Linked DNA regions of Homo sapiens: regions 1, 2 and 3 are each linked to region 4. Evidence: promoter capture Hi-C in human tissues and cell types (Jung and others, 2019). All regions are on one chromosome and are shown on one strand. Each heading gives the region's core, a stretch centred on a gene start or on the middle of the fragment in contact. The rest is flanking DNA. Distances are from core to core; before and after follow the strand shown.

What was found. Contacts are between HindIII fragments. The study calls those that stand out against the background at their distance.
Region 1: a fragment that was not itself captured here is called in contact with the fragment with the promoter of SLC6A1 in region 4 in 1 of the 25 tissues and cell types used here (dorsolateral prefrontal cortex).
Region 2: a fragment that was not itself captured here is called in contact with the fragment with the promoter of SLC6A1 in region 4 in 1 of the 25 tissues and cell types used here (pancreas).
Region 3: a contact is called between a fragment that was not itself captured here and the fragment with the promoter of SLC6A1 in region 4, in 1 of the 25 tissues and cell types used here (spleen).

What each region holds. Positions count from the first base shown.
Region 1 is chr3:11,042,449-11,048,572 of GRCh38, reverse strand. No RefSeq gene overlaps it. Among named protein-coding and RNA genes, the nearest start is that of SLC6A1-AS1, 26 kb to the right of the region's middle. RefSeq lists a silencer at 2,676-2,970. The HindIII fragment of the contact is 4,784 bases long and covers 1,525-6,124 here.
Region 2 is chr3:10,938,811-10,944,366 of GRCh38, reverse strand. SLC6A11 (solute carrier family 6 member 11) reads right to left here. Exons shown (of 14, transcript NM_014229.3): 14 at 3,653-5,556. Among named protein-coding and RNA genes, the nearest start is that of SLC6A1, 51 kb to the left of the region's middle. The HindIII fragment of the contact is 8,537 bases long and covers 1-5,556 here.
Region 3 is chr3:10,955,477-10,961,247 of GRCh38, reverse strand. No RefSeq gene overlaps it. Among named protein-coding and RNA genes, the nearest start is that of SLC6A1, 34 kb to the left of the region's middle. The HindIII fragment of the contact is 3,231 bases long and covers 1-3,178 here.
Region 4 is chr3:10,990,132-10,995,662 of GRCh38, reverse strand. It overlaps SLC6A1 (solute carrier family 6 member 1), which reads right to left and starts at 2,915. Exons shown (of 16, transcript NM_003042.4): 1 at 2,734-2,915. RefSeq lists an enhancer at 2,071-2,595. The HindIII fragment of the contact is 17,540 bases long and covers 1-5,531 here.

The DNA.
Region 1 (6,124 bases), core at 2,667-5,166, 52 kb before region 4:
GGGTTGGAGCACTGAGTGGAAGCTGGCCTTGTGGCTGCCAGGTGAACCCTAGCAGTGATCTGGCATGGGGAGCTGGAAAGAAGAGGCCTGCTTTGAGATATATGGGGTGGGGCAGGGGAGAAGCCCAGGTCAGGGCCCCACATCACAGGCTGTGGGGGTCTGGGGCTGGGGAGCCGGGGTCTGGTTGCGGCTGAGGAGGTGAGATTCTGAATGTCCCAGTTGGCTCTCAAGCCCCAGATGGGGCCAACTGCAGGCCCACATGACCACTATTAGTCTGTTTGGGGGTCACCTCCCTCTTTAAAGTCTAATGAGGCCATTGTTTTGTTGCAAAGCTTCAGCTTAAAAATTCTTTAAGTGCAAGGGCCAATTTAAAGTGAATGTTTCAATGGGCCAGGACTTGGATACATGAGGTGGGGGTGAAAAGAGAGCCAATGTGGGTCTTATCCCATGTCCCAGGTCCCTTCTCCCATTGGACCAACTCAGAAACCACCTGCTGCCAGGAGAATCATAAAGTCAGCCCCTCCCAGGCATCAAGCCACCATCCTCTTACCCCTGTTAAGGTGGGGCCCTCTGCTTGCACACCTCCAAGGACAGGGTGCTCACTCACTACAAAGACAGCTGGTTCTATTGTTGGACAGTCCTGACCATGAGAATGTCCAGTTCCTTAGGTACTGGAGCTTGTCTCCTGAGGTTCCCCTCTTACCCCCAATACACACACCTTTGGCTCCTCTAGGGTCACAGAGTACTCTGTATCTTTTTCCTTCATGCACGCATGCATGCATTCATTCAGTGTTTTTTTAAAGCGAGTCACTTCATTTCTCTAAGCACCATTAAGTGGGAGTAATTAGACCTGCTCTATGGGTTTTCATAGATATTAATGACACAGAGGTTAGGCAGCACTTAGCTGGTGTGTATTGCAAAATGCTGGCTTTCAGGAATAGGAAGCTATTAATAAAAGCAGATCTCTTTTAATCATTGGCATGTGGCAAATTTTGTGCCAGGCCTGGGGACACAAAGAAGATTGAGACAGTCTCCCCCAACAACCTTCAGCTCCCAAGAAGCTCATAGGCCAGGGTGGGAGGACCACAGTGCCAAGGAGCCTTGGAGCACAGGAGGGTGCCCAGCACATCCTGGGTAGGCTCCCGGGAGGTGACTTCTCAGCTGGGACCTGAGGAGAAGTTTACCAGGAGAAGAGGGGCAATGACAGGGATGGGAGTGTGTGAGTGGGGACGGGTCCTGGTGAAAGCTAGAGCCTGCTCCACCATCCCCCTCCCCACCGTAGGAACCTGTTCCAAACCTGTACCTTTCTCATCAAATAAAGGTGATACCCAGCTTCTTCCTAGATTGTTTGTGTGTTTAAAATAATTCCAGACTTAGAAGTTGTAAAACTCAGCTGGGCACAGTGGCTCATGCCTGTAATCACAGCACTTTGGGAGGCTGAAGTCGGTGGATCACTTGAGGTCAGGAGTTTGAGACCAGCCTGGACAACATGGCGAAACCCCATCTCTACTAAAAATACAAAAATTAGCCAAGTGGGATGGTGCACATCTGTAGTTCCAGCTACTCGGGAGGCTGAGGCAGGAGAATTGCTTGAACCTGGGAGATGGAGGTTGCAATGAGCCCAGATTGTGCTACTGCACTCCAGCCTGGGCAAAAGAACAAGACCCCATCTCTAAATAAATAAATAAATAAATAAATAGAAGTTACAAAACTCATATAAAGAGTTTCTGTATACTCTTCACCCAGATTCCCCAAATGTTATTTTCCACATTTGCTGGCTTTATCATTCTCTCTTATGCTCTCTCTCCACACACATATTATATATGTATATACTGTATTGTTATTATTTTTTTTCAGACAGAGTCTCACTCTGTTGCCCAGGCTGGAGTGCAGTGGCACAATCTCAGCTCACTGCAACCTCTGCCTCCCAGGTTTAAGCGATTCTCCTGCCTCAGCCTCCTGAGAAGCTGGGATTACAGGCACCCACCACCATACCCGGCTAATTTTTGTATTTTTAGTAGAGACGGAGTTTCACCATATTGGCCAGGCTAGTCTTGAACTCCTGACCTCAGGTGATCCACCCACCTGGGCCTCCTAAAGTGCTGGGATTACAGGTGTGAGCCACTGTGCCCAGCCTATATTGTATTTTTTTTTCTGAGTCATTTAAGAATAAGTTGTAGACAAGTTTCCCCTTTAGCCTGAATACTTCAGCATACATTTCCTAAATAAATGACATTCTTTTACATAACCACAGTGTATTGATCAAAATCATGTAATTATCATCCATACAATATTATTATCTCATCTACATATCTTATTCAAATTTCATCTATTGTTTCACTAATGTCCTTTACGGCAAGAGAAAAAAATTTCTGGGCCAGGTTCCATTTCCGGATAAAATTGCATTCTGTTGTCATGTCTTTAATCTGAACAATTCCTTGGTCTTTGTCTCTTATGACCTTGACATTTTTCAAGAGCATAGGCCAGTTGCTTTGTATACTATTCCTCAATTTTGGTTCCAGGATTGCTTTTAACAGTATTTCTTGATGTGATGTGTGGATGACTTTCTCCACTAGAAGGGCTTGAGGTGCTTATTAGAATGTAATTTCTGGGCACCAGCCTAGACTTCCTGCATCAGAGTGTCTGGGATGGGGTCTAGGGATCAGCTTTCTGCCCAGCACACTCTCTGATTCTTATGTGCACTGCTGGGTTAAAGCTTTCTTTTTCTGAAGATGCCGCTAAGGATTTGTGCATGGGGCTTCTGGGCCGGTGTTTCCTGGCATGGTCCTTGTAAATTCAGTCTGTGCATTTTACCCTGAAGCCCCTGCAGGCCTACGAGGTCAGTGCAGGCCCTTGCCTCCAGAGGGGTTGGCAGAAGATGTGGGGCTAATTTCTGAAGCTAAAAACACCTTTGCAAAAATTGTAGTAGTAAGGGAAATCGAACATACCTGACTTCATCTTGCTTCTACCAGGCTAGTTTGCTTTTGCTCATTCTTGTGCGGAGGCCATAGCAGCCCCTTCCTGGAGCTGTTCCCTTCTTTGTTTGGAAATTGCAATCGTATCTGTAAAGACTAACAAAAGGTAACAAGGTTAGAATGATGCTAGAGGCCTACAACTTCGCTAAAGAATAGGTTGAACTATAACCATCCATTGCTTGTTTAGTTTGCTTTTCTATATGTTGCTTACTGCCCCAGAGTCACATAACTGGAGGTCGTGATATTTGTAACTTCCCCAACTGCTCCTATGGATAACTTCACTATTGTGAAACCTAAAAGACTGGTCTTTGAGATGTTTTTCAGATTTAGCATTTCAGGAGATCAAGAGATGCCACATGATCCTGAAATCCCCTCCCAGGAACTGACTCAGCTGTTCAAAGACAGTTTAGAGACCCCTGTGATTTTGTCCCCAGCCAATCAATTGTTTCAGTTTCCCAGCCCTCTGCCTGCTGTTTTCAAGTACACTTAAAAACCCTAGCTTCTGAATTCTTGGGGAGGCAGATTTGAAAAACATCTCCCATCCTTTTGTTTAGTTACCTTGTGATAATTAAACCCTTTCTCTACAGCAACACTGCTGTCTCAATGTTCTGGCTTCATCTTGCAGTGGGCAAGAAGAACCCCTTTGGGCTGTAACAAGACTCCAGCAGGAAAGGGGCAGAAGCCCCTCATATTGATGCCATGGGCTTTTCCTGATCCCCCTCTTGCCTTAACTCTGCCTGGTCTTAGATCTTTGCCTTATACCCTGTGCCATGTTTGTGACCATGGAGGCCACTGTGCTATAGTGGAAGGATCTGGGCTCAGGGTCCAGTCCTGTGACTTTCAGCTCTGTGGCTTTGTGAGAAAGTTGTTTTCCCTCTCTGAGCCTGAGGAAATTCATCTATAAACGTGCATTAGTCCTTTTTGTGCTGCTATCAAGGAATATTTGAGACTGGGTAATTTATAAAGAAAAGAGGTTTATTTGGCTCACAGTTCTGCAGGCTGTACAAGAAGCATAGTGCCAGCATCTTCTCGGTTTCTGATGAGGCCTCAGGAAGCTTTTACTCATGGTGGAAGGGAAGGGGAGTCAGTGTGTCATATGAGAGAGGGAGAGAGAGAGATGCCAGGTTCTTTTAAACAACCAGCTCTTGTGCAAACTCATTACCATGGGGAGGGCACCAAGCCATTCATGAGACATCTGCCCCCATGACCCAAACACCTCCCACTAGGCCCACCTCCAACATTTGGGATCACATTTCAACATGAGATTTGGAGGAGATGAACATGCACACCATATCAAAATGCCAGTAATTACCTGCAATGTTCTGTAGGTTTGTGGTGAGGAGTAAACAGTATTCCACGAGAAAGTGCCGGGCACACAGAAGGCATTCAGGAAATAAGGATATCTTTTCCTTGCCTCCACATTCCTGTAATTTGGAGAACTGCTGTGGGGAGTACAGTAGGCTAGTGGCCCCCAGTTGCAGTGCCTTTGGGATGTCCCACAGTGTTGAGCCAAGTTTACACTGTCCCTGGCAGCACTGAGTGCATAGTGGAGTTAATAGGGCCTGGACATTTCTTCAATGTGGAACTCTTCAAAGCACAGCCTTTGCAGTGGGGATTCCTGGCGGGCTGGCTGAGACTGTCCCAGCGCTGCACTGCAGTCTATGGTTCTTCCCACACATGACTCCTTCCTTCTCCTGTTGTCCAGCCATCAATGTGGCTGGGTGTCTTCCTGCCTGGCCCTGCCCTTTCTCCCCTGTGTCATTTAAGGGTGTTTACCCCAATAGCTAGAAGAAAAAATCTGAAATGTTCCCAACACAAAGAAATGATAAACATTTGAGGCTATGGACATCTTAAATGCCCTGATTTGATCGTTATACATTGTATGCATGTATCAGAATATCACATGTACCCTATAAATATGTGCAATTATTATACATCAATACAAAATTTCAAGGTGTTTACCCACAGGTCCATTTTGCTGCTACATTTGTCTTGGCATCTGCTTCTTGGCGGACCTGAACTGACACCAACCTCAAGTAAAACACCAAGACATTCTCTTTGACAGTATCAGGTGAAACATCAGTAAACACATCACTGGAACCCTTGATTTCTCCTTCGCTCATGTTAGGATATTATTAGAGTTGTCTGTCATGGTTGGTCTCCTCACCCATGTCCCATTAGCATTTTTTGGTGAAAGAAGATTTTCCTCCAAAAGCAAAATATACAAAGTCCTTAATTTTATGTGCATTATAATGAGATGCCTTGTCAGTAAATTGTCCTTCTCCACATTGACAAGCCCACGTGACTTTGTATACCTTTTTGTTTTGTTTTGTTTTGTTTTTTTTTAGAGATAGGGTCTCCTTCTGTTGCCCAGGCTGGCACGCAATGGTGCAATCACAGGTCACTGCAACCTTGAACTCCTGGGTTCAAGCCATCCTCCTGCCTCAGCTTCCTGAATAGCTAGTACTACAGGCATGTACCATCATGCCTGGCTAACTTTTTAAATTTTTTCTGTGCAGATGGGTCCTTGCTATGTTGCTTAGGTGGGTCTTGCTTGAACTCCTGGTCTTAACAACCCTCCTGCTTTGGCCTCCCAAAGTGCTGCGATTACAGGCATGTGCCAATGTGCCTAGCCATGACTTTGTGTATTTAAAAATATAGTTTATTATGTATTTCCTATTATAAAAATAATGCTTGTATCTGACACAGACAGAAGTGCTGGATGTCAGAGTGCAGGCACGGCGGGAGCCAGTGTGCACAAAAATGAAGATGGAAAAGGGACTTCAGTGTTATGGCTGGAGCACTGACATGAAGGGTCAGCCATACCCCATGGGGTGGTCCCAAGGGAGAAGTGAGAAAAATCTTGTGGGGTGGTTGGTACAGAGCCTCAAACTTAGTAGGGCCTGAATGAATAGTTGTTATCATTATCACTGTTGTCATGAACTGCCACTACTTCAACACCTGCCTTCTCTGAGCAGCCCTGACCGTGGCTCAGTGAGCCTGAAGGGTGTGCCAGGGAAGATTCCACGAGGATCATAAAAGGGCTGGTTTGTGAGGACAGAGAGAAGAGTAAGCAGCTGGTGCTATTGTGCGGTCACAGAAAGTCACAGAATGGCTCAATATGAGAGTTTCCTATGTACCAGGCCCTG
Region 2 (5,556 bases), core at 1,077-3,576, 51 kb after region 4:
AGATAGCTGGTACACATTGTTCCTCGCGTCTCTGTGAGGGTGTTTCCGGAAGAAATTAGCAGTTGAATCAGTAGACCTAGTAAACAAGACCTGCCCTCACCAAGGCAGACAGGCGTCATCCAATCCTTTGAGGACCCAAGTACAACAAAAAGGTGAAGGGAAAATTTTTCTCTGCTTGAACTGGGACATCCATCTTCTCCTGCCATTGCACGTCAGTGCTCTTGGCTCTCAAACCTTTGGGTTTGGACTGGAACTACACTGTTGACTTTCCCGGGTCTCCATGTTGCTGATAGTAAATCATGGGACTTCTCAGCCTCCATAATTGCATGAGCCAATGCTTTATAATAAGTCTCTTTCTATATATTTTTATCCAATGTTTAGAGAAGTTTCTCTAGAGAAGCCTGACTACTACAGGTGGTCGGTGGAAAGTGCATGGGCCTTGGCGCCAGACACACCTGGGCTGTTACCCCGGCTCTACCACTTTCCAGCTCTGTGACCTTGGGTAGCTGAATCTACCTCTCTGAGCCTGTTTCCTCATTCCTGGTAGAATGTGAACACCATGCCAACTTACAAGGCAGTTGAGGGCAAGGTAATGCATAGGAAAGTGTCTGGTATGGTCTCCAGCACTGAGTAGGTCTTCAATGCCTATGTATTCCTTTTCCCATGGCTCCCCACTCTGGGGCAAGCTGGGCACTTGTTCATCCAAGCTCCTGTCCTGTGGGGGGACCAGCATCAGATGCCATTCCATGATAAGCATGGTGTTACCTGATCTTGCTCTGCCAGAGAGATTGGTGAAGATACATGAGGGGTTATAGAAAGTAGACTGGGGTGAAACCCTGTCTCTACAAAAAAAAAAAACAAAACTGGGCAGGGTGGCACACACCTGTTGTCCCAGCTACTCAGGAGGCTGAGGTGGGAGGATCACCTGAGCCCAGAAAGTGGAGGCTGCAGTGAATGGGGAGTACCCTGGTTCCCTGCTCTCCCAAAGCCTCTGTCATCACTCGGGATGTTCCCTCATCTCAAATGTCCTTCTCTGCCTAAGTCTTCCCATCCCCCAAGGTGCAACTCAAGTCCCACATCCTTGGTTAAGTGGCTGGGCACATGGGCCTTATTTAGATCCAGCAAACCTGGATCCAAACCCAGCTCCTCCACTTGCCAGGAGGTGTAATTTGTATCTCTTAGAGCACATTATTTACAGTTCTGAACTCTAGTTTTCTCCTATGAAAAATGGGATTAATGACAATTACCTCTTAGATTTGTTGTGAGGCTCTGATGAGGTAATGCAGGCACGACCCTGGAACGCAGCAGGTGCTCCATAAACAGTTCTTATTCCTGCCTGCAGTACTTCCCCAGCACTCAGTCCATGGCACATCCTGCCATATGGTTTCCTGTGAAGTGGCTCTGACACTTGAGCCACGCTGGATGCTCAGAGAGTGCTGCATGTGTTACTCTTTCCAGTATCCCTCACAAAGTGGGCATTATTTAAAAATGAGAGAGAAGTGGCCAGAGTTGGCAACAAAGGCTGACTTTTCTCCCTAATGGGTAATGAGGGGCCCAAGCTCATTTGCTTTTTAACGGCTTGAGATGGTGCAGGGGACTGATTATGAGATGGGAATACAGAGTTCTAGGGGAATCTTGGGCAAATCACATTCCCTCTCTGGGTCTCATTTCTTTGCCATTCTACCAGTGGCTAACCGAGGCCCAAGGAGTGGGCAGACTTGCTCACTGCCACACTGAAGAACTCTAACTGGCTGGAAGACGGCTAGGAACAGGAGGTCAGAATCAGAACAGCATCTCCCTGTGAACTTACTCCTGTCCAGAAGCGTATGGACACCTCTCCTCCTAAGAGTAGGAACACTCCAGGGAAGGGGCTGTTAGTCCTGAGTCCACACAAAGAATATGGTGGCTGCTCAGTAAAGGGCTGCTGAATGCATGAAAGAACTCAATTTTCCAAAGTTGGCCACTTTCAGCAGAATATGCCTGCTCTTTGGTGCCTGATCCCCTCCCCCATGGGAAATGCTGTTAGGCCTGAGGTAGCCTTGACTTCACTGCCAAAGCTCCTTTCCCCTTCTCTGGTTATTGGCAGTGTCTAGTAGAGGCAGCCTGCAGTGTCCCACTTGGCCAGCAGGGGTCACTAGCACACACTGCAGCCTGGAGGGGTCTAGTGCGTCAATTAATTCCTCATGCTATTAATTCTATAGGCTCAAGAGTCTGCAAATGAAGTTTCCTGGGAATGAGTGAAACTCATATTTCTGTGACTCAGCCTCCTCTTGCATATGACAGCTGCTTAATGCAAGACACTTTCAGACATGAGGAGGGAAGATGGCAGGGAACAGGTGACTGCAGCAATCCCTGTGGCTCTGTGAGGGTAGGAATTACTCAGGGACCCTGGCTGTGGATCACAGAGACTTTCTGAATTCCAGAAGTCTGTGGGATGCTTTCCTACGAGCAGATATTACCACCTCAGAGAGGATCAAAGGCCAAGACAGGGTCAGGTAGACTTGAGATCAGGGATTTCAAGCAAAAAGTTGACCAGACAGGAATGAGTAGACACTGCATAAGATGATCTTACTGTCATGAGCTGGCAGGACAAAACATGCCTGTGGTCTAGAGTAGCCATTTAGAAATATCAGACACAAATTTAGAGGCTTTAGTCTAAGTTCTAGGCAATACTACAAACACTTTTTGAGCTTAGGCATTATTTATTCAGGATAATAACTAGTGTGAATTCAGAACCTTACCATTCACACACAGAGCTCACGGGATCTTCATGATCCCGTGATGCCTGCATTACCTCATCAGAGTTAGACCCTGTATTTGAAACAGGAGCTATTATCCCCATTTTGGAGATGAGAAAACTGAGGCTGGCAAGGGCAGATCCTGGAGCCTAACTCAGGGCTGCATACTCCAAATCCTCATCTCTCTGTGCTCTGCCTTGCCTGCCTCAAACATGAGTGTCTGCCTACTAGGACACAAGCATAAGTTTTGTGGCAGCTATTTTCACCACTGTGAGGGGGCTGTTGCTTTATTTAGGCCTCATAGCACGAGAAACAATAAGGCATTGTGGTCAGGAGACAGGGCTTTTGGGTCAGACACACCTGAGTTCTCTTTCTGGTCCTGATGTTTACTAGCTGTGTTACCGTGGGCAAATTGCTTGACTTTTCTGTGCCGCAAAATCCCCTATCTGTAAGGAGGACGGAGAAGAGGCGGCTGGGGACAGAGAAGGGCCTTAGAAGAAAACCAGGCCCCACTGTGGCTCCTTCTCATGGGAGGCTGGAGGAAGGTCTTAGAACATAGATCCTGGCTGGGGTGGCTGCAAGAATAGATGGCTATCTGTAAAACAGGGGAAGTAATAAAGAAATAAAGCAATACATAAATAAAGTGGAGAAGTACCTACTTTACAGAGTTGTTGTAAGGATTAAAAAGACAACTTCTGTAAAGCATCTAGCACATACTAGGCAAATGGTAAATACATGAACCTAAAGAAGTCTGGGCTCCTAAAACACCACTGCTTTTGTTTCTAATTTGTAGTGCTGAGTTGAGACTGCAGCTTCCACACAGGGACCCAAGATGGTTTTGCAGGCATATCATGGAGGGAATAAAACCAGGACAAAAAACCCAACGAATACCACCTTGCTAGGAATAGCCACACTGATTGTTCATTTCTTTAATTTTTAAAAATGAGTAAGCAGACAATCTTGCACCCTTTGAATGCCCAATAAAAATGTTCATTATGCAAAACAGTACAACCTTTTTCATTTTTTAATAATACTGTAAATATCTCAGAAAGGATGTATTGTTTCTAATGAATATCAAAAAAGTCATCACAATGACATGTTCCCCTGCCCCCACATTGCCCTCCCCACCCCCAAAGTTACCCAAATACTAGTAGGAAATTACAAAAAACAAAAAGCAACAATCCACCCTCCGCCCTGCCCCATGAGTAGTGTTAAGTGAGTCAAGCGTTAGCCACATTACGACGTGTGTGTGTGTCGGCGATGGCGGACCACAGGGATCTGTGGAGAACCGGTAGCAGCAGCAATGGGAAGCCTCCTTGCCTGGGGCCTGCTGGGAAGACAGCAGCCGAGGATAAACACAAGCAGGGCCCCAGCCTGGCCCTTCCTGGGTCCGCAGAACCAGACAGCTCAGGGAGACGAGAGTGGGATGGTGGCTTGCCCATAAGAAGCTGGGCAGGCCTGAACTGTGTGCACAGAGGGGGCCCAGGCTAGGCTTCCCGTCCTGCCCAGTGGGGCACTGGGCATCCCTCTTAGTAGACACAGGCTTCAGATCAGGGCTGGCCAGAGCAGAGATGCTGGGGGTTTGCAGACTTTTGGGTGAATCAAAAACAGAGGACCCTTACAGGAAACTCAGGCCTTGGTTTGGAGAAAGCCCACGTTTCCACCAAATAATATTGGGAACCTAAGGAAAAAGGAAAAAAGAGTGTGCCTTCCCCACCCTCATATAGCTCAGAAACCAAGGCAGAGGCTTGATATGAAGTCCAATTAAAGAAGAAGAGCGGTATCAGCCAGAGAGGTCTGCAGCCAGGCTGGCTGGGGAACAGCACCAGACTCCAGGCCCCACGGAGAGAGGAGCCAGCAGGATGCCCAGGTCTTCCCTCTAGTGAGAGCTGAGACTTCTGTCTGCCAAAGATGGGAGGGAAGGTGGCCGGGAACAGGTGACTGCACCTGTAGCCTTGCGCCTGGCCACTGAGGCAGGTAGAATGGCTCCTGAACCAGGGGCAAGGATGGGAGAGAACTGAGAGGGAGGATGGTGGTAGGTGGAGGTTAGGGGACAGGAGGAGGGAGAAGAGGTGGCCTGGGACAGAGAAGGGCCTTAGGAGGAAACCAGGCCCCCTGTGGCTGCTTCTCATGGAAGGCCGGAGGAAGGTCCTAAGACATAGACCCTGGCTGAGATGGCTGCAAGAATAGATGGCTGCTTCCCCACCCAGAAAATCAGTCCCCACAGCAACTCCAGCCAGCCCTGCCAAGGGTGGAGAGGCAGAGCCGGCGCTAAGAGCAGCTGACCAGGAAAAAAAGGCAGGCCAGACAGAGGAGCCCCTGCCATGGGGGCTGAGGACCCACTGGTGTCCAGAGAGCAGGGCTGCCCACAGATGAGATGAAATTAGAGTTTTAGGGAAAACACACATCAACACCACACCATTTCTACAATAAACTTGATTTTAAATAAGCAGGTGGGGAGGAGGTACAACTGGGAGGGCGGAGATTATTGCCTGCAAGTCTTCAGAGGAAGCCAAGGTCCACGGCAGGTCTGGAAGCCAGCAAGGCACACAAAGAGAATCCCTAAGAAATAACCCAATCCGGCTCCTCCTCCCATTTGGGAGATGGGGAAACTGAGGCCCAGGGAGGGAAAGGGAGTGCCCAAGGTCACTTCATGGGATCAGGGCAGAGGGGGGCCTGCAGCCCAGGAGTCCTGAGTCTGCTGGACTTTTTCTTCTCTGCCACATAGCCTTGCTGTCTGCAAACCCAGTGTCCCTTGGAAAGGGAAGGTTTGAAGGAAAAATTATCCCTGGGGTATGGAGGAGGGGCGGCTGTGGAT
Region 3 (5,771 bases), core at 314-2,813, 33 kb after region 4:
GTTCTGCTTATGAGCGGTGGGTGCACCTGTGGCAGGGCGAAGGGGAGGCCCCCAGGAACTCACCTTCCACCTTGCATCAAGGACAAGGGGCTGACCAGCACCACCAAAGGGACAGTAATGGGGGAAGGTGGGAGTCTGGGTCCATAGTCTCTGACTCCCATTTCATGTCATCTTAGCTATAATCATAGTCCTCCTTTAGAGCCACTTCCTCTGTGACAGATGCTGGGCTTTATAAAAGTATTTTGTGCTCATTTTTCCCCCTGACACCCAGTAGAATCCTGAGGAGGAGAAATCAATGGCCCATTTTACAGACTAGGATACTGAAACTTAGAGATATCAAGGCCCTTTCCCAAAGCCTGTGAGTAATGGATCCAGGATTTGAACTTCAAGTCTACATAAAGCCCCCTCCCCTGCCACACTCCACTACCCCATCTATAGAGTGGGGTCTTAATCCCTACCTCCTGGTTGTGGGGACAAGAGGAGATGACATCTGTGAACACTTGGTACCAGTAACTGAGGTCCTTTCTTCCCTCTCTCCTACTTAGTCCATCCCCTTGAGAGCATCTCTGTTTCCTCATGCCCCCATCTGCTCTCCCTGGGATTGACTGGCCAGGCCTGCAGTGCAAAAAGGTGATCTGCAGGCCTCTCACTCAGGCAGAGGGCACCTTGGATCCCCTCTGCCTAATCGTAGTTGTGGCTGGATTGTCTGAGCGCCCATAGGCCATGTGGGGCCATAGTCTGGAGGTTGAGCAAAACGCATGCACATGCACACGTGGGCCCACACATTCAGACACATGTTCTTGCACGTGCACGGGGCATGAGCATGCATGTGTGAAACTGTGTGTGGATAGACCCTGGCCCCTGGCCTCTGCATCATCACACACTGCTCTGGGGCAGACAGAAGGCAAGTGGTGGGAGGAACCTGGAGGATGAGGAAGGGATTTGGACTGAAGTTGGGGGAAGAAGAGGCCCTGAGGCTGGCAGGGAGGGTGAGGCCACCTAGGGAGCATCCAGACTTCCCCTAATACCTGTGTCATCCATGCCACAGGTCACGGTCACAAAGATCCAACCCACTCATGGGGCCGACAAAAGAACCAAGACCCAAAGGACGGCATTGGCCTGTGCAGGGCCACACTGTGTGGGCATGGCAGAGCCAGCACTAGGACCCAGGCTTCTACACCAGACACAGGTTCCCCTGACATCAGAATCTCAGACAAGGACTGGCTTGAGGTAGTTCGTGTGAGAGGTGTGAGAGGTGACACCTGAGAATAGGAGTGAGGGAGCCAGAAGAGTGAGGCAGGGAGAGAGAAGCCAATACAAGGCCGTGCAATCCAGGCTGCCATGGTAGCAACAGGGACGTGAATCTGCCAGGATCTTTGAGGGGCATACAGAAGCCCTTCCACAATTGCCCATCAGCTCCAGTCCCCCATTTCTCAAGGGGTGCAAGGAACGGGGTGCTAACTTCCCTGGACTTCTGAGTTGCACGTGCACGGGGCCCCAGTGAGCTCTGTGGGTGCCCCCCACCGACCCGCCACCACATATAGGCAAAGACTCTGGCACGCCCTTGAGCATAATCTGTGAGTGCAAAGGAAGAGCCTGCATAGACAGCTGTGGTGAGATCAGAGCGGTCAAGAGCAGAGGTGCCAAATGCATTCCAGCAGCAAAACACACCTGTATTTCCATCTGCTTTCATTAGGTAACTGCCCGATAATTCAGCTCACCTGAGCTCCCTGCCCCGGCAGGATTGTTCACTCTTCATAGGAACACAGCAGTCTCCCCTTATTTGTGGGGGATACTTTCCAAGACCCCCAGTGGATGCCTGAAGCCAAAGATAGTACCAAACTCTATATGTGTTATGATTTTTCCTATCCATACAGACGTATGATGAAGCTTAATTTATCAGTTAGGTACAGTAAGAGATTAACAATAACAATAAAATAGGATAATTATAACAATATGCTGTAGTCAAAGTTATGAGAATGTCTTTCTCCCTCTCAAAATTTCTTATCGTATATAATATTTTCACACTGCAGTTGAAGGTGACGGAAACTGCAAAACGTGAAAGTGTAGATAAGGGGGGAACTACAATAGCAGCTAATACTCAGTAAGTCCCTGATATGTGCCAAGCCCTGCTCTAGTCACTTTATTTGTATGAACTCATTTAAACCTTCCTACAGCCCTGGGAGGTCAGTACTGTTATTATTGTTTCAATTTTACAGATGAGAAAACTGAGACCCAGCCAGTAAGTGGCAATGGTTGGATACAAACCTGGCTCCAGAGCCTGAGGCTCTACTTCCCCTTTTATGAGATCCCAAATTCTAAGTTGCCCACCCCCAGAAGGAGTCCTGGGACATTTCTACCTCAGTAGGACATGGCCAGCCGCTGGCTCAGGTCACTTCCTGGGGAGGGTTATTGGGAAGAGCACGTCCCTGGCACTTATGGGAGAATAGGCTCCCTGGCCCTCAGGACCTGTAGGTGTCCCTTCTAACCCCTCAGGCCTGCCGTGGGGCCACTCTCTGCAGGCCCCTCCTGGCTTTCTCCCTCTGCCTCTGGCCACCCATCCGTGGCTGATGGGAATAGGTGCTCATGTCCTGGAGATGTGGGCACAGGAACTCTTGAGCAATAGCTGTCTAGATCAAGTGGCCTCCATGGCTCAATTTCCAGCAGCTGTGGAAGGAGAGCTGCTGGGTCACAAATAGCTGGGAAGCTCGCCAAGCCACAAGTGCCACTGATTGCTTCTGAATGCCCCACTCCCTAGAGCTCAAGGCCAGCTCCCCTCAGCCCACTTGGGCAGTGGCCAAGGCTTATCAAGTGGGTAGATGTTGTGGGTGAGGCAGTGTGGTGTGCTGGGGCCCCTGGCCTCCCTCCCTGGCTGGTTGACTTGGGGTCCAGCACCCTCCCTGAGACCCCTCTGGTGAGCAAAGAGCTTAGACTAAGCCAGGTGTCCTCCACTCAGGGTCCTGGATCATGGAGCGGGTGAGAACCTGTACTGGGATCGTCAGTCCCCTTGTTGGTGAGCCTGGAGCTCGTGCGTCTGCCTCCCTGCTGGATTGAGGGCCCCACACGCAGCGAGATGCTCAATAGACATGTGGTGAGTAAGTTCACACATCGTTCTCGATTATCACCGTGAACGGCTTGCACTGGTGACAGCTTGTTCTGCCGAGGCTCTGTTTCAAACATCGATGCACGATGCACGTAACCTCACATAAGCCTAGGAGGTGAGCACCTCCATTTCACAGATGAAGAAAGTGCTGGAAATAAGGCAGAGTCCTGTCCCAAATCACACAGCCAGGAGGGCAGAGCCAGGATTCCTGCCCAGGTCTGGCTGCATCCCAAGCCTAGCTTGTGGCCTCTGTTGCACTAGAATAATAGGCATCGCTGCTACTGATTACGGGGTGTTCCTCTCCACAAGCCCCAAGTTAGGATTTGTGTAGGCACCATCTCATTGAACCATTGTATGGGTCAGGAAACAGAGGCTTGGAAGAAATGGAGCCAATTGCACAAGACCATGAAGCCTGGAACTGGGGAAGCTGGGTTTGGAACTGCATCTGGTGGTCCTAAAGCCTGTACTGTTTTGACCACCACATTGCTCCCCTATCCCCACATCAGCCCCACTGCAAATCAAGTCAGGACGGTGGGTGGGAAATACCCCTAGAACATCCAACGCAAACCAGAAGGCCCTCCCCTGCAGCCCCCATGGTCTGTACTTGAGTGTTCAAGCCTCCTTCTCCCTAGACTGGCAAGAGGTAGAAAACAGGGTCAAAGGCCCGAGCAGGATGGGAGAGAATGCAAGATGATAGTCCCATGGCCAGCGGGCCTGTGGGCAGGAGGGACTGGAAATGGGTTAGTGTCCAGGGCAGTGCTGACCCACTTTGGGGCTTGTTTCCTCTCCGTAAGCCTTTTTCAGGTCCCTCCTCCCCTTCCTGTCAGAATGGGGGAGTCAGCTTCTCCCCCACCCACATGGGAGCCAGGGACACTGGGAGGATCTTTCCCTCCTGCTTCTGCATCTGCTGGGCAGAGCATGTGCCTGACACCCTCAGTCGCGGCCAAAGTGACCTGCCTGAGAGATTCCAGCACGCTCATCTGAGCAAGGACAAGGAGCAGCTTGCTGGCCCTGGAAATTATCTGGGGAGCTATTATGAGCCCGTGTTTTCTGTCTACACATCCACAAGACGGGTGTGCCTCAGAGACAGCTGTGAAAATGCCTGCCATTGATTAAGCACTCACTATGTGCTGGGAACTTGGCATACCTTGTAAAGATTCCTTGCAACGGATGGAGGGATCAGTGTTATATTCAATCTCCCCTGAAAGATGAGGAGAGGGAGGCTCAGAGAGGTTAAGCGAGTTGCCTAGGATCACACAGTGAGTCTACTAGGATTTAAGCCTGGGGCCTTCTACTTCCAGAGCCCCAGGTTTTTCTTCTGTCCTTTGCTGAGGCTTGCTGTGGTTCCTGGTCACAAGGAAGCTTGTTAAAAATACAGAATTCTCTGGGAGATTTGGAACGGGCAAGTAAGGGATGGGCGTGGGAGTCTGGATTTTTTGGAAGTTTCTGGTGGGATAAGCTGTGATGCCTATTCTAGTGTAACAGAGGCCACAAAGCCAGGCTTGGGGGTGGCCAGGCCCGGGCAGGAGTCCTGGCAGCAGCCTCATTTTAAGGAGGAACCAATGTGAATGTAGAAGGTAAATTCAGGGTGTGGGGTCCTAGTAACTGGGACCAGGTGTCCTCCTGTCCTTGCCTGGGTTAAATTCCCAGGATTAGGGAACATAAAGGCAGAAATGCCTGGAACATGAGGGAATTTGTTCTGTGGGCGCCAGACCTCCTTTAAGCTGTCCACGTTCAATCTCAGCAGGTTTGAACCTCCGTTGAGAGTCTGCCGGGGGCTGCATGCTGGGAGAGGCTGTGGGTCAGGCTAAGGCAGCGAGGAGATGTTTTTGCAGCTGCTGTTTTGAACGCTGGCTGAGGCCCCATCTGGCCAGAGGACTCAGTCCTGGGCTGGGCTATGGTTATGGGTTGCCTGGAATGGCTTCCCTGGGAACAGGAGACGCATGGCCAAGTGTCTGGCTGTGGCACGTTGTAGGCCCTCAACAAAGTGCAGGAATGGCCTGCAGTGCCCAAGGCAGAAACTGACTCCCCTGTGGTTCTGTCCTCCTCCATGCCCGTGCGCCTTGACCCATCACTGGCCCTGCCCAACTGTCTGAGCTCTGTCGTGCCTCTCCCCGACTCAAAACCCTCCTGTCACCCCGGTCTCCTTTCTGCACTTCAGCCCCCTGTTGCTGTGTCCTGCCGAGGAATTTCCACTCACAGTTTCCTCTCTCCCAGATGCTGCTCTCTGCATGCCGCCCAGCTGGCTCCTTCTTCCCACAGTGTCTCTCTCAGGGTGGCCTCTGCCCATCATCCCATCAGGAACAGCTGTGTCCAGCCTTAGGATTCCCAGGCCCAGGGACCCTTCTGAGCACACATCATTGTCATCATTTATTTACTGTTGGGTGTATTTCCTCTGTTGCTCCATGAGGCAAGAAACAAGTGTCCAGCATGGTGGCTGGCTCAGAACACTGTTCAATAAGATTTTGCTTAGTGAATTAATGAATGATTAGCGAATGGTCTCACACCTGAGCTGCTAACTGGGGATCTTTGCTCCTGTCCCTGGCTCACTGCCGCTTCTAGATCCTTTGAAAACGGAAGAGAAAAAGGAACAGACACATCAGAGTGAAAAGATGACTTTGACAAAATTTAGAGAGATCTGGCAAACAATGGTTCGGGCGAGAGTCCT
Region 4 (5,531 bases), core at 1,666-4,165:
TTAACACTCTGCCTGAGACCCATAGACAAGCAAGAGGGTGGAAAAGACATCTCCAAATTCCAAGTAGCATGGAACTCTATCTCAGCTGCTGAGCTCACAGCCAAGCCAAGGAATGGAGTCTTTGTGTGATGGCAAGAAGTGGCCTGATATTGGTGCTTTATTTATTTCATGGTGCTCTCCACATGTCATATGCCACCAAGGTAGAGGACCAGCCACTGCTCCCATGGCAGGCCCACGGGAACTACCACCCCATCACTTCACTTTACAGATGGAAAAACCGAGGCCCAGAGACCCACAATAGGACAGAGTTGGCCTGGAAATTAGAACAGTAGGGTTAAGATCCCTGCCCTTCCTCCTCCTGGCTATGTGACCTTTGACAAGTCACTTCCCCTCTCTGCATCCAGTTTCATCGCCTCTGAAGTGGGGATTAGAATAGTGCCTGCTCCACACGGTTCTTGTAGGAATAATCCCTGGCACATTGGAAGCTTTGGGTACTCCATTCCTTCCTTCCAACAGGAACAAGAACGTACCCAAGGTCACCTGGCCAGAAATGGCAATGCCCCAGCTCAAAGCAAACCCTCATCTGGGGCTCGTTCATTCCCGGCTATGGACTAAGGGGCCACATTTTATAGCCTTCCTGGCTCAGTGAGACAGGTACAGATTGCAGGTAGGTCCATGCCAGTGATAGCATCACCTTCCATCCATGCAGGCTTTATTCTAAGAGGTTTATTGAGGTCCTGCTGTGTGCTGGGCCACGTGTAAAAAAATTTATAGCCTCTGCTGCTCCGGGGTCACCAGGCATGTAAAATCCGTGGCAGGCAGGAGAGACGTGGCCACTGTGCATCTTTTGGCTTCGATGGACTTGATTTTGCCTCATCTTTACCCTCTAAGCTACCTACTCCTTGGTCTCCAGACATCCTTCCCAGCCCCATCTAAGTTCCTGGAGACCCACTTCTCATCAAGCCTCCAGACCTGAAATAAAGTGTCCCACATCAGGACAGAGGGTCCCTGATTTTACCTCCAGAGTGGCTGCCTCTCTCCTGTGTGTTCCTAGGGGAACCCCACTTTCCAGATGCTCTGCCAGACAGGCCGGGCTGCGTCTCTCTGCTTGGGACTCACTGTTTGTCCTCCAAGGACTGGCCACTGAGCCAGTGCTTGGCTGGAGACAGAGCTCTTTCTTTGTTTGCTGCCTGCCTGACGATTTATTTCTGAGGCTCAAGGGAGGCTCAGCCATTTTGCCAGGGCTGCTCTGGGAAAAGGTCTGTCCCACTCCCCCAGGGACTCCCACTTCTAAGGGCAAGTTCTTTTTCCCCTTCTCTGCCTTGGAGAGGGTCTGTCCTGCCCCAATCAGACCCTGATCTGGAGCTGGGTCAGTCCTTCCCAATGTGCTCCAAAGATAAAGAGATAACATGCAAAATGCGAGTAGCTTTCACTGACCTCTTTTGTTTTGGAATTTGGGGGACTGGGGTAGCAGCCTTTTTGGCTCCCTTAGGAGGACACTTCCCCCAAAGTTCCCAAAGACACAGAATCTAGGCACTATCCAGCACCCAACATCCCTACTCTCTTGCCAAACACCCACCTTGTGTGTCATAGAAAAACAAAGGTAGACCCCCAATGCCACTCAGTCTGATACCGTCTCTGATTTTTGGGGTGTCACAAATCTCAGGAGCCATTTTATTCCCGCCCTCCCCGCCCCCCCAGCTCTTCATGGGGATAAGGCTGAGCTTCCTGGGAAAGGGAATGAGCGCTCCAGCCCCACATCCGGAAAGAACGTGGTGTTATCATTTGGCTTTTAAAAAATTCTCCTTGTGGTTCATGTCTATTTTGGGAGGATATTAGCTCAGAGCCTCAATAGGGGACTGCCCGGTCTGAGTTTCTTGTCTGAAGACCGAGCCAAGCCTAGAACAGGACATCTGTGGGTGCCACCCGTGGGGACGTGTGCTCAGAACCCAATGGGCACTGCCCGAGGCTACCGTGGTGAGCGGTGTCGCGCCGGGGAGTACACGCAGAGACCAAAAGCAAGAAGGGGAGCGCAGTTCCCGAAGCAGCAAGGAGGCACCGTCCTCCAGCCCTCTAAGGGACCGCCCGCACCCCACATCTCTTGGAGAAAGTCGGGGCTGGGAGAGCGCGGCGCGAGCTCTGGTGCACTAGGCTTAGCTCCGGTGCACTCAGCCCAAGCCCCGGTGTGCTTTTAAGCCAACGTTTCTGAGAGCTCGGGCTGTCCCAGAGACGTCCCATCCTCAAGTCGCACCCGACCCCGCCGTAGCCCGCAGAGAACAAATGAGGGGCATAGCTCTAACTCGGCTCAGCTGACCCCAGGATTGGGAAAGTGGCGCACGGCCCCCCAACGCTGCTCGTGTCATTCACTCCGCGTCCCCTCCATGCCCTGGGGAATGAATAGGGAGCTTCGACGGCTCCAGCAGAATCCAGTGCCAACTTGCGGGGCCAGTGGGGCACCGCGGGAGGGAAGGGGCATGCAACTCTCGCCTCTGTTCCAGCCCTCCTGCCTCCCGAGTGTCCCAGGGGACGGATGGCCTGGGCGCACGTCGGGGTCCGAGCGGCGCCTCTGCTCCTTCATGTGGCTCAGGGAAGGTGCGGCGCGGGGGCTTGAATCTCGAGGTGTCCGCCCCCCACCCGGCCCGGCTCGCGGCAGCGGCTCGGGGCTCTGGCCGTTCCTGCGCCGTTATCCCAGGCTCTGCGCCCCGCGCCCCGACGCCGGCCGCCCTTTCCTACCTGCGGCCGGGGCTGCGCTGCCCGGGACAGGCGCTGCATCCGGGCGGCTCGGCCGCTCCGATGCGCTCGGGACGCGGGGCCGCTCGGGCTCGGGCTCAGCGCTACTGCGCTCCCGACTCCTCGGCTCCTGGGCTCAGCGCAGCTCACCCGCAACCTCTCCGCTGTCTCGGTCTTCCGAGGGCGGGCGGAGGGTCGCGGGGAAGGGAGAGGAGGGGGGAGCGAGTCCGGAGGGATGGAGGGGGAGGGCAGGGCCCGCGGCGCCCGGAGCCCGCCCAGCTCGGGTATAGCCCTGCCCGCACCGCCCGCCCCCGCCCAGCGCTCCCCCAGGCCCGCCGCGCGCTCCCTCCGCAGCTGCCTCTTGCAGCTTCGCCGCCAGCAGGCTCTCTCCTTTTCCCTTCACCTCCTCTCCCCTTCTACGCCTCCCCTCTCCCTTCTTTCCTCTCGCATTCTCCCGCTCTCTTCTCCCTCCTTCTCCCCTCTCTTCCTCCCTCTTTCTCCCCTCTCTTCCTCCCTCCCTCTCCCCACCCCCTCCTTCCCTCGCCTGCCCCGCCGTCCCGCTCCAATCTCTCTCCTTCCTTCTCCTTCCTTTGATGGCTCTTTCCGGCCTCATCCTGGGTCACCAGCCTGTCTGCCTGTCCGTCTTGGTCTCTGTCTCCCTGTCTTTCACAGCAAGCACTCCCCTCCTGGCTTTTCTCCTTCCAGCCTTGCAGTACTGCTTCCGTTGGCCTGTCCTTTCCGTTTCTCTCTGCGGTCGTCCTCTTTTCGCCCTCTGTGGGTCGCTGTGGGTTGGGGTGGGCCCGTGCCCCCTCCCTGCTCTAGTCCTAGGGCAGCGTCTGCTGCCCGTTACACCTGGAAACACAGGCCTGGCCTGGGGTGACCAGGCTCTGGGTACCAGCTGGGAGTGTGTGTAAGAGTGGGGGTGGGAAGGACACCCTTCCACTGCCAGCGGTTGGTCATGGAGACACAAGTGGCTGTGTGTATGGATGGACAGATGGGGAAACAGATTACTTAAAAGGGAAACAGGGATGGTGGCAGGAGCCCCAGACACCCTTCTCTCAGTTCTTGAGGTTTGAGGGATTCTCCCAGAGAAGTCCCCTTTCCAGCCAATCCCAATCCAGCACGTAGGGACTCCTTCCCTTGTCCTTGCCAAGGCCTGACCTCCCCACCCTCTTTTATAAAGGCTTCTGGGAATGGGGCCACATCTGCCCTTCCCTCTGGGGTCCCCAGGAACTCAGAGAAAAGATTCCTTCTCTCCAGCCCAGACCTACTCTTCCCCTCCTCTCTTTGTCCCCAGGGATGGCCTTTGCTGATGGACCTCAGGTCCTCTACCCCACCTAATCTGGCCTCCTCCCTGCTTTCATCCATCCTCGAGTCCCCCAGGGCAGTGCTCACCAAGGTCACCCTGACTTCTTCTGTTTCCCCACACTCTCACTCATGAGCAGGGAATCTTGGTGTCTTTCTTGACCCATTCACCTCCCACCACTGATCACCAGGTCATATGTGCTGTGGACTTCCGTTGGTATTTCAAATAAATATTTCCCGAGTTCCACCTGTGTGCCAGGCACTGTCCTAGGCTCCAGGGACAGAGCGATGGACAAGACAGGCCACAGCTTTCAAGGTGATGCCAGTCCAGTATGGGAGACAGGCTTTCATCAAATAACCGCACAAACCCAGAATGACAAGCTCTGCCAGGAGCACACATGCAGGGGATTCTAGTCCAGCAGGGGATTCCAGTCTAGTGTGGGATGGTTTGGGAAGGTTTCCTCAAGGAAGCGCCATTTGAACTGAGGTCTGAAGGATGAGTAGGAGCTGTCTGGATGGAGATGTGGGGCATAGCTTTGAGTGGAGATACAAGGGTAGCAAAAATGAAGGCTACTTTTGCTTGCCTGACATTCATTTCAACTTCTTTGGGTGACAGAACCTCAATTTTCATTTGGGAAACTTCCCCTCCTTCACTCATATTCAATATGGTTGGGTGGGGCTCCCTCCTCCTGGAGACAGACATGTGACCCAGGGCACAGATAATCAGAGCACATCACTCTGACCTCAATGAGGGGACGTGTGACATATGCTGGGCCAATGAGAACTCTGTCTGGGACTTTTGCTAAAACTATTGTCAAACAGAAACTCAATCTCCACCAAAGCTCCTAAGCATAGAGGTGTTGGCAGCCATCTTTGCAGAACTTGAGCAGACCCGACCTAAAATGAAGCCAACATAGAGGAGAGCAGAACTGAGAGACAGAGAGTGGAGTGAGTCTTGATGTATATCAGGTCCCTGGATCCAGCCATACCTGAAGGCAGTGTCAGCTATTTATATCATTAAATTGTTTTTCCTATGCTACACAAGTTTGAATTCAGTTTATGTTGCTTAAAACCAAAATAGTCTTCATGAATCCAGTGTTGGATTGAGAATTATGAAGCATTATAAAAAGGAATAATAATAGCCATTCCCATCCCCCTTTTGTCCTTCGTGTTTTCTGGGTAACCTCATTCACAATTGTCTCTCTGTTTTTTCTACGTTGCTGACCAGAAATGAATTCCTCTCTCTTTTCATCCCTCTGGATTTGTTTTGCTTACATATGAAAGCAAACTCTAGCTATCAGGTCAATTTCATAGGCTGACCATCTGATGCTTGAATTATCTCCATGACATTCCCTGCCCCCGCTGGCATTCTCTGCCCCTGCCCTACACCCATGACTGTCCAGCGTATGTCTGCATCTCTGCAAGGATGGGGAGAGCTCATTATTCCACCAGGAAGATGGTTTCCAACAAACTCTTATCACAGTCGAGCTCTGAGA